2 separate regions of the Homo sapiens genome follow, and region 1 is linked to region 2. Evidence: promoter capture Hi-C in 16 types of primary human blood cells and fetal thymus (Javierre and others, 2016). All regions are on one chromosome and are shown on one strand. The core of a region is centred on a gene start or on the middle of the fragment in contact, and the rest is flanking DNA. Distances in the headings are between cores, read along the strand shown.

What was found. Contacts are between HindIII fragments. The CHiCAGO score rates a contact against its expected background, and 5 or more counts as called.
Region 1: a contact is called between a fragment that was not itself captured here and the fragment with the promoter of NT5C3A in region 2, in 1 of 17 cell types (neutrophils). The highest score is 8.7, in neutrophils.

The regions. Positions count from the first base shown.
Region 1 is chr7:32,878,608-32,883,030 of GRCh38, reverse strand. KBTBD2 (kelch repeat and BTB domain containing 2) reads left to right here. Exons shown (of 4, transcript NM_015483.3): 2 at 3,089-3,596. The coding sequence starts at 3,427. Among named protein-coding and RNA genes, the nearest start is that of KBTBD2, 11 kb to the left of the region's middle. The HindIII fragment of the contact is 4,245 bases long and covers 1-4,192 here.
Region 2 is chr7:33,060,435-33,064,995 of GRCh38, reverse strand. NT5C3A (5'-nucleotidase, cytosolic IIIA) reads left to right here and starts at 2,220. Exons shown (of 9, transcript NM_001002010.5): 1 at 2,220-2,428. The coding sequence starts at 2,291. It overlaps LOC124901610 (a long non-coding RNA gene), which reads right to left and starts at 1,811. Exons shown (of 4, transcript XR_007060279.1): 1 at 1,348-1,811; 2 at 849-967. RefSeq lists an enhancer at 1,706-1,865 and silencers at 2,106-2,225, 2,526-2,585. The HindIII fragment of the contact is 6,622 bases long and covers 1-4,561 here.

The DNA of each region.
Region 1 (4,423 bases), core at 821-3,320, 180 kb after region 2:
ACTTAATTTTATTTATTATTTTTTGTTTTTGTTTTGTTTTGTTTTTGAGACGGAGTCTTGCTCTGTGACTTGGGCTGGAGTGCAGTGGCACGATCTCGGCTCACTGCAACCTCCGTCTGCCAGGTTCAGGTGATTCCCTGGCCTCAGCTTCCTGGGTAGCTGGGATTACAGCACGTGCTACCATGTCCAGCTAATTTTTTTGTGTTTTTAGTAGAGATGGGGTTTCGCCATGTTGGCCAGGCTGGTCTTGAACTCCTGACCTCAAGTGATCCACCGACCTCAGCCTCCCAAAGTGCTGGGATTCCAGGCATGAGCCACCACTCCTGACTTTAATTTTATTTTTAATTGTACTTGTTTATTTACTTAGTGTCATATCTGAATGACTTACTTTTTCTGCCTATTTTAAGGTAACTTTTACGTAGGCTGCCTCTCCAGGAAGAAAATGTATCCTGGATTACAAAAGAAGAGTGGGAAATAGGGGAATCTAATAAAGCTGTGTTAATGAGTATGACTTTGTACTTTTTTAGAAGCAGACTTCAATTGTTTTAATACGGTTTCATGGATACGATAAAAAATCAAATCTGGCAAAACCCAGTCGTAAATGAGGCCTCCCCAAAATCATTGCAGAAAATCATATTATTATATGGTTAATGAAATGACCAGAGTGAGCCTGTACCGCTAGCCTGCAAGAAATTCTGGGGTCTAGCGGCATGATTTAAGTCTGTCTTGGCCCTGGCCACCAGTTGCTGTCACCTTGTTTAAACATGGATGGGGACAATTTTGAGTCCAGCTACTGGGATTAGGACTTCTACTTTATTAATGCATATATTTCTGTAAAATATATTTCTAGAAGTAGGATTAGTAGATTGGTATTAAGCATTTCCAGTGCCAAGTATTATTAATACTTGCAATTTTGAAATTCAAAAAGCTCTGAAAAATCAAGTTGTTAAAAAAAAAAAATCTTTGCTAGTAAAACCTGACCTGAAGTAACGTGAGGCTATATATAGTCTTTATTTTTGACACCATTCATAGTTGCCTCAGCAAAGATAATATGTTTGATTATCCATTGCTACCTGAGACTTCTTGAGAGGATTTCATAATGTAGGGTACATGTGTCACAATACCTCTATAAAATCTGGAAAAGTGTAAATTCTGGAGCGTGTCTTGTGTCAAGAGTTTTGAATAAGGGATTGTGGGTATGTATCAACTTACTCCTCTGTGTAAGAATGCTTGTTTTTCCACACCCTCAACAACACTATGCCTTGCTGCATTATTAATGTGTGGAAATAGCCAGTGATTTTAAGTATTATTTGCCTTAGAGATTATAGTAGTAGAACTCAGATTTATAGTGTGACATGCTGTTCTGGAAGAGCAAAGTTATTACCTTAAATGACCCAGAGTCTCACTCTGCCTTTGCACCTGTTTTAGTTACTTTCAAAGTTAACTTGGCTGGAAACTTGACTGTATATCAAGTTAGCAGTTACTGTAATAGTATAGTTTGTCAGGAAGTGTATGTCATTCTCTTTGACATAATGGATGGTATTTTGTGAGGAAAAATAACAGTGATTCTAATGATGGAGTCATTTCTCATTATGGTAACTAATGGTCATCTTAACAGTTGGTGAAAAAAGAGGTGGCAGTTTTTATAGTTAACATATTAGTAGCATTCTATTTGGGATTTTCCTCTTTTCCTGATTTGTAATTCCTTTGCCATGTGTTGTGAATACTGAGTTCCAAATTAAATTTTTATTCAGCTGGAATTTTGGTTTTTTTTTTTGATGAATGGTATGCAGTATGACTAAAGCCTAGGTTTTTTTGCCCCCTTGAGCAGTTAGCCACTTCCAACATTATTTGTTGAAATAAACCATTCTTCCTAACTTGAGATACCATATTTATCTTTATCATATCTAATTTCTTTTTTTTTTTTTTTGAGACGGTGTCTTGCTCTGTCACCCAGGCTGGAGTGCAGTGGTGCGATCTTGGCTCACTGCAATCTCCACCTCCCGGGTTCAAGCAATTCCCCTGCCTCAGCCTCCTGAGTAGCTGGGATTACAGGCACACACTACCACGGCCAGCTAACTTTTGTATTTTTAATAGAGACAGGATTTCACCATGTTGGTCAGGATGGTCTCGAACTCCTGACGTTGTGATCCGCCTGCCTCGGCCTACCAAAGTGCTGGGATTACAGGCATGAGCCACTGTGCCCGGCCAGTCATCTCTGGTTTCTTATGTGTACTTGGTTTTATGGCAGTTTTATAGTACATTTAATATTTTCATAAAAATCATTAAAAACTTGCCCTTCTTCCCCTCAAATATCTTAGCAACCTTTGTGCATTCTTCCAGATAAATCCCTTGAAAATAGGATTTAGATTGGATTTGTATTAAAGTTACATATTAATTCGGAGAACATTCATATTTGTGTAATATGGAGTTTTCTGGGTAGGAACATATACCCATTACATTTTATGTTTTTTTTTTTTAAGTAAAATATACTTTTATTTGTAAAGATTCCTAGGAAAGAACCACTCCACAAAGAAACAAATTACATATAGTTCTCCTAGTGAATTGAATGGCAAATTTGAAAATTAACAGTTTGAATCTATTTACCGTATAGTTTAAATTAAATATGAAGACTTTGTGAACGTGTTTAAAATATATTCGGAGAACGAGAAATCTCTGTGTAGGAGAGCAGGTTTTTTGTTTTTTTAAAAAAATATTTTTTCTTAAATATTATGATCATTTGTTGCTACCAGACAAATAACTAAGAGATCTGGCTTTGGTAATTTAAGTTGTCTATTTTGAAAGAGCTTTAAAAATGTGTACTTATTCATGTGTTCGTTATTTTCTGTGACAGTTATATTTTGTATAGAAGGCAAAAGTTAACTTGAAATTACAACTGGTAATTTTCTTGTTTTTTAATTTTAAATGTAGACTAAGAATCTTCATTTTTGTCATGTTTCACTTTTATGGTAATGTCTAAAGTTGAACTTGAAATAAATATGATTTCTATTTAAGGCTGCCATTTTAAACGTTATATTCTAAAACCGTACTGGCCTAGATACTACAACTGAACTTTTTTTCTTTTTAGTTACTCCACAGGATCCGCTGAACATAGGATGTTGCCACAAAATCTACCTCGTGTATTTTTCTCTTTCACTCATGAGCTGCACAATTGCAGATTTGAGCACAATGTCTGCAGACTGTGTTGAAAAACTCTGAAGAACCTAATTAACACAGGATGACCTAGGAGTGATTCTAAGTCTGTGTAACAAGATATTACTCATTAGTGAATGTGTCAGTCTTGGTACTGAATGCTGCAGATAACAGCAAGTAGGTTCTCCTTTATTTCTGAAGTATTCACTTGACCTTCCATCAGTAAGACGGACTTTTCTAATCTGTTCCTGGAGATATTAATGGAATACAGTCATGTCCACTCAAGACGAGAGGCAGATCAATACTGAATATGCTGTGTCATTGTTGGAACAGTTGAAACTGTTTTATGAACAGCAGTTGTTTACTGACATAGTGTTAATTGTTGAGGGCACTGAATTCCCTTGTCATAAGATGGTTCTTGCAACATGTAGCTCTTATTTCAGGTAAGTACTTTTAATGTTTTAAATAGAAATTCTTTGAAATGTTATTTAATTTTTTAAAAAGCCACATCTCAATTTTTGTTTTTAAGTTTTGCTTAAGGTTTCTATTCAGATGATGTAGTACTTGGCAAATCTCATTCTTGCATGTGTAAGAGACACATGAAAGAAGTTTTATAAAGGTTGAAATACAAGAAATGTGTTGCAATTAACTAAGGTAAAGTTTTAATGTTGGGAAGGCAGAAAGGTTTAGAATATTCTTTTTCCATTAAAAGAGAAAGAAAAATGGGATAATTTACACTTTGAGATTTTAAAATGCTGCCTTTAGAAAACAGTGATCTCTGTTTTTAAACTGACAAGTTATAGGCTCAAATAGTAATTTTTAGAGGGTAAAAATTGGTGCTGTTAGATAGGTTAAGACTTTTCTTTACAAAATATATTTTTTCTCACTCTTTACTATTACCATTTGTGATATTTCTTTATACTAACTAGACTCTTTGCCAGATTTAAATATTTAATAACTAGTAACGTTGGTGTTCTCTATGCCTCTGAATGCAGAAGTTAATTTAGTTACTCTTTGCTAATAACAAATACATAAAGCTTAACTTTACATTTTTATGATCTTTTGCGTCTTTGTTGTACGTTTCCTGAGCAGAATAGAAGCCAAGGCATAGATGGATTGCTTTATTTGTTCTTTGCTTTTAGGTAATTTTGACTTAATATTTGAAAGGGACAGGGAGAATAAAGGTGAATTAAATGTGGACCTGTATATTTCTACTACAAATATTAACAGACATAAGCAGCAATCATTAGTGAGTTTGATGTTGCTGTTT
Region 2 (4,561 bases), core at 971-3,470:
AGCACCATGCCCAGCTAATTTCTTTGGTTTTTCAGGGATTGTAGAGACAGGGTCTCGCTATGTTGCCGAGACTGGTCTCAAACTTGTGGCCTCAAGCAATCCCCCAACCTTGGGCTTCCAAAGTGCTGAGATTACAGGCACCAGCCACCTCACCTGGCCTGATTTCTTTCATCAGTATTTTGTAGTTCTCCGTGTAGAGATCTGTACTAGTCTGTTTTCAGGCTGCTGATAAAGACATACCCCAGACTGCGCAATTTACAAAAGAAAGAGGTTTAATTGGACTTCCAGTTCCACGTGGCTGGGGAAGCCTCACAATCATAGTGGAAGGCAGGGAGCAAGTCCCATCTTACATGGATGGGAGCAGACAAAGAGAGAATGAGGAAGACGCAAAAGCGAAAACCCTGATAAAACCATCAGATCTCCTGATACTTAAGTCACTACCACGAAAACAGTATGGAAGAAAACACCCCAATGATTCAATTATCTCCCACCAGGTCCCTCCCACAACACATGGGAATTATGGGAGTATAATTCAAAATAAGATGTGGGTGAGGATACAGGGTCAAACCATATCAAGATCTTCCATGTCTTTCAACAAGAATAATTAATATGTTAATTCACATAGAAGCTGAAATAGTCTCCAAACATGGCCAACCCTCTTAGATTCAGAAACACAAGGTTTACACTTATAAAAAACATATGGACCCCTTTCCTCCTGGAAATTTACTACCAGGGTTTGTAGTCTAATTGACTATACTCCTACAGCTTTAACATCTCATATAGATGATAATCAGACCTATGATATAGTATAACTAGTTAAAATAGAAATCATATTTCAGAGTACCCACATTCTTCCCATGTGCAGTTGACGGGCCATATTACAAAAACAAAATTTGGAACTCCATTTCTGTTTTAGATTGTCCACAGCTTCAAGACGAATGTTATCGTCTACAAAATGTTTAAAATCCTGAAATTATAGAAACGTGGCTTTAGTCTCTACCCATTCAAAATAATATGTAATATATGGAAAATGTTTTTGTTGAGGAAGAAAGATAAATGAGACTGTGACCATCTTAGGCCTCACAATCAGACAACATTTAAGTCATATTGGTATTTGGTGCAAAACTGGATTCATAAAAAATTACTTTGGCGACAAAATGACACAGTAGTCTAGATATTGATACTCAAATATTCTGGGTATTAAAACTCAGTCTTCTTCAGGTTATACTCCCAGCTAACTTACTTTGGGACACGTTCTCGGTCTATACTGAGTCTGTGTTCCCAGGCTTAAGTCCTCAAACTTGGCCGAGTAATAAAACTAACCATGATTTCTTTAAGTTTTAGTACCTGTTATTTCACCTTTCGGTCGACAAATCGTTTTTCTCATGTTCCTCTGTCTTACATCAATTTAATTTGTAGACCAGCCAAATGACCTAAAAGGCTAGAAGGAAACAATTTTTCCTCCCCTACAACTATTTCCTCTAGTCCTCCGGCTGAAAGTTGTTCCACGTCCTGGGCAGAGAGAGCCCCACCAGGCAGCACCACCAGCTCCACAGAGTTGGAGCGATTCCCCCAAGAAGCTCCCCTGCGCCCCTCCTCACCCCCAGAGACCAGCAGAAGAAATGGCATCTATCCCTTGGAAGACACTAGGCAGGAGAGAACAACTGCAAGCCCTTCTGCTCACACAGAAAAAAGGATGGCGGAGGTGGCGAATGGGATGTAGCAGAAACCCCGCGGCTGCGGCGGAAGGGACACCGCCCCTCTCCAGCCTAACTCTGAGCCATCTTCCCCCTGTTGTTATAGCACTTAGAACGGACGCCACTGCGCAGGTCACACCGTGCCGCGCAGCCTTCTGGGGGTCGGAGTCCAGAGGGGCTGAGGCGCGAAGGCGGAGACCGACTTCTTAGCGGGCCGCAGTTGGAATTAGATTTCTACTGGGGCGGGGCTCGAGCGAACCACGGCCTAATCCTCATTAGCAGAGAAGGATAATTACCGCAATACTCTGCCCTGCCCTGACAGCAGCTCGTGAGACCCTGAGTCTGCTGAAGGCCGCCTCCAGCCTGGGCTCCGGGCACAGGCCACACCCCTCCCGCCGCGTCCTGGCCTCTCCCATCGATGGCGTGTGGGTGGGGCTTCGTGGGGGCGGAGCTGCGCGGGGCGGGGCGTCGCTGCGCGGGGCGGGGCGTCGCGGGCTCGTCCGTGATGCTCTGGGATCCCGCGCTTCCGAGACTCGCAGTCTACGCGAGCTGCCTGTTTTTTTCCTGCTTGGACGCGCATGAGGGCCCCGTCCATGGACCGCGCGGCCGTGGCGAGGGTGGGCGCGGTAGCGAGCGCCAGCGTGTGCGCCCTGGTGGCGGGGGTGGTGCTGGCTCAGTACATATTCACCTTGAAGAGGAAGACGGGGCGGAAGACCAAGATCATCGAGATGGTGAGTGTGGAGGCTCGGCGCGCCCAGAGCACGCGAGGGGCCGGCTGGGCCGTCCGCTGGCCTCGGCAGCCTGTGCTGGGCCGCTGTTCGGTCGCGACGGGGAGCTGCCGGCGTCGCCTGTCAGGCTGGGATCTCGCTAGCTCGGGACGCGCAGCTTGGGGGACCCGGCCGCCCCGCGTGCGGCCACTCCGCGGGCTTGGTGACCAGGGTTGGGTCCCCGGCTGCGGCCCTTGGCTGCCCGTGGTCTTTGTTAGGTTTCCGTTTGAAGGAACAAGGCAGAAAATAGATGAATCGGACACAGGCTACTTTGTGCTGCAAAACCCGTTTCTCTAGAGATAAGCTGCATGTCCTGGGCAGGTGGCTCCTTCTCTCCCTGCCTTGCTCCCGCCCTCCCCCCGGATCCGCGTCAAACCGTTGCCGCTAATCTAGTTGCAATTCCCGCAGAGGACTAGTTTTATGTTGGGGCTGCCGTGAGTTAGATTATGAAAATGTGCAATATCTAAAATTTTACAAGAATGGCAATCCAGGAGAAATTCAGGATAGTTTATTTTGTATTTGAATGTATTCCTTCTTGTCTCAAAACTCCCACGAAATATCTTTGTTTTCATCTTAACTCCCAAAGCTCTTGTATACATTTTCGAATTTAATTTTTTATTGAAGAGGGTGTCTCAAGAATTCCCTTTGAGATACATTATAAGTAATTGTTTCAAAAATGAGGATATTTAGTTTCGTTTTGTATTTTAATTAGAACCCACTCAGGAAGACAATTCTTGCACAAACTTGCACGCTTATGTATTTCCTGAAATGCATAATCCTGGGTATACGCCTGACCGTGTGCTATACATGTGAACATCTAGGGTCAGATGATTTATGATAGAAAAAAATTTAAAATCTACACTAAATAATATCATTTTAGGGTGTAATACTTGGAATTTCTGAGCACCTGCAATATGTTCCAACTGACGAAAGACACGATTTGTCCTATTGGTTGTACTGACCCCAGGTTGAATACAGATGTATTTGCATAATTAAAATTAGCCAGTGTCCCAGCTATTTGGGAGGCTGAGAGGAAGATCACTGGAGTCTGGGAGTTCAAGGTTATAATCACACCTGTGGATAGCTACTGCACTCCAGCCTGGGAAACATAGCGAGACCCTGTCTCTTAAAAAAAAAAGTTAATTCCCACTTGTCTCATATTCCAATAATATTCCCTAATTTTGAATTAATTTATTCTTAAAGGGTCTTAATAATTCTAAAGGCTTATTAAAATTCATTTGTCCCACATCTGTATGCCCACAGCAGCAAATGGTTTTAACTCAGAAGTTTCATTTTGCTTTTGTTGCTTTCCTGCTTAGAAAACTTGGCTTTCTTTTGCCCAAGGTTAATAATGCCTATGTAGGGGAAAAAACCGAGTTGCCATATCTCCCTGCCTGTGCTTAAACTATGGATTGGTCTGTATACCACTTATCTAAGCCAAGTAAGGTTAAAAATCAGTGTGTTCACAAAATCCTTCAATGATACCATCATAGGAACAGTTTGCTATCTTTGTGACAAATAATGAAGACCTATCTAGAATACCAACTTATTGGTACTAAAGAAATCAGTCAATATTTACATGTATGCATAGTATATTAATTCAGATTGTAATATATGTGTAGCCTGCTAGTAGCTTTTCAATGGAAAAAGTGAAAAGAGCTTCATGTTAACTTTTTTAATTTTAATAGGTTGCTTCTTCAAGTGGAAGAAGTATTTGACTGGGGGTCAGAAGACCTGGGTTGGAATCCTAGTTCCATCTTTCTGTAATAATGTAGGTCTGCTCTGCCCATCCTCTGCCCTCCTCCCTCAGAAAAATCTCTGCAAACCCATGATGTCCAACAGACATAGCTCATATTGGTCACAGCTAACGGAGTTAACTACCTAACCAAGTTGGGCCTATCTAACTGGCTAAGAAAACCAATAACTTCTGGGACTTGGTCAAAATGATGCATTGTCTTGCAAGAGTTTTTAATTGAGAGACATGAGGAAGTTGCTAGTGGGTTGTGTATGCTACAGCTGAAATATCCCATAGGGCAGCAAGATTAATGTACAGAAGAAGCCAGTCATGGCTAGGCATGGTGGCTCACACCTGTAATC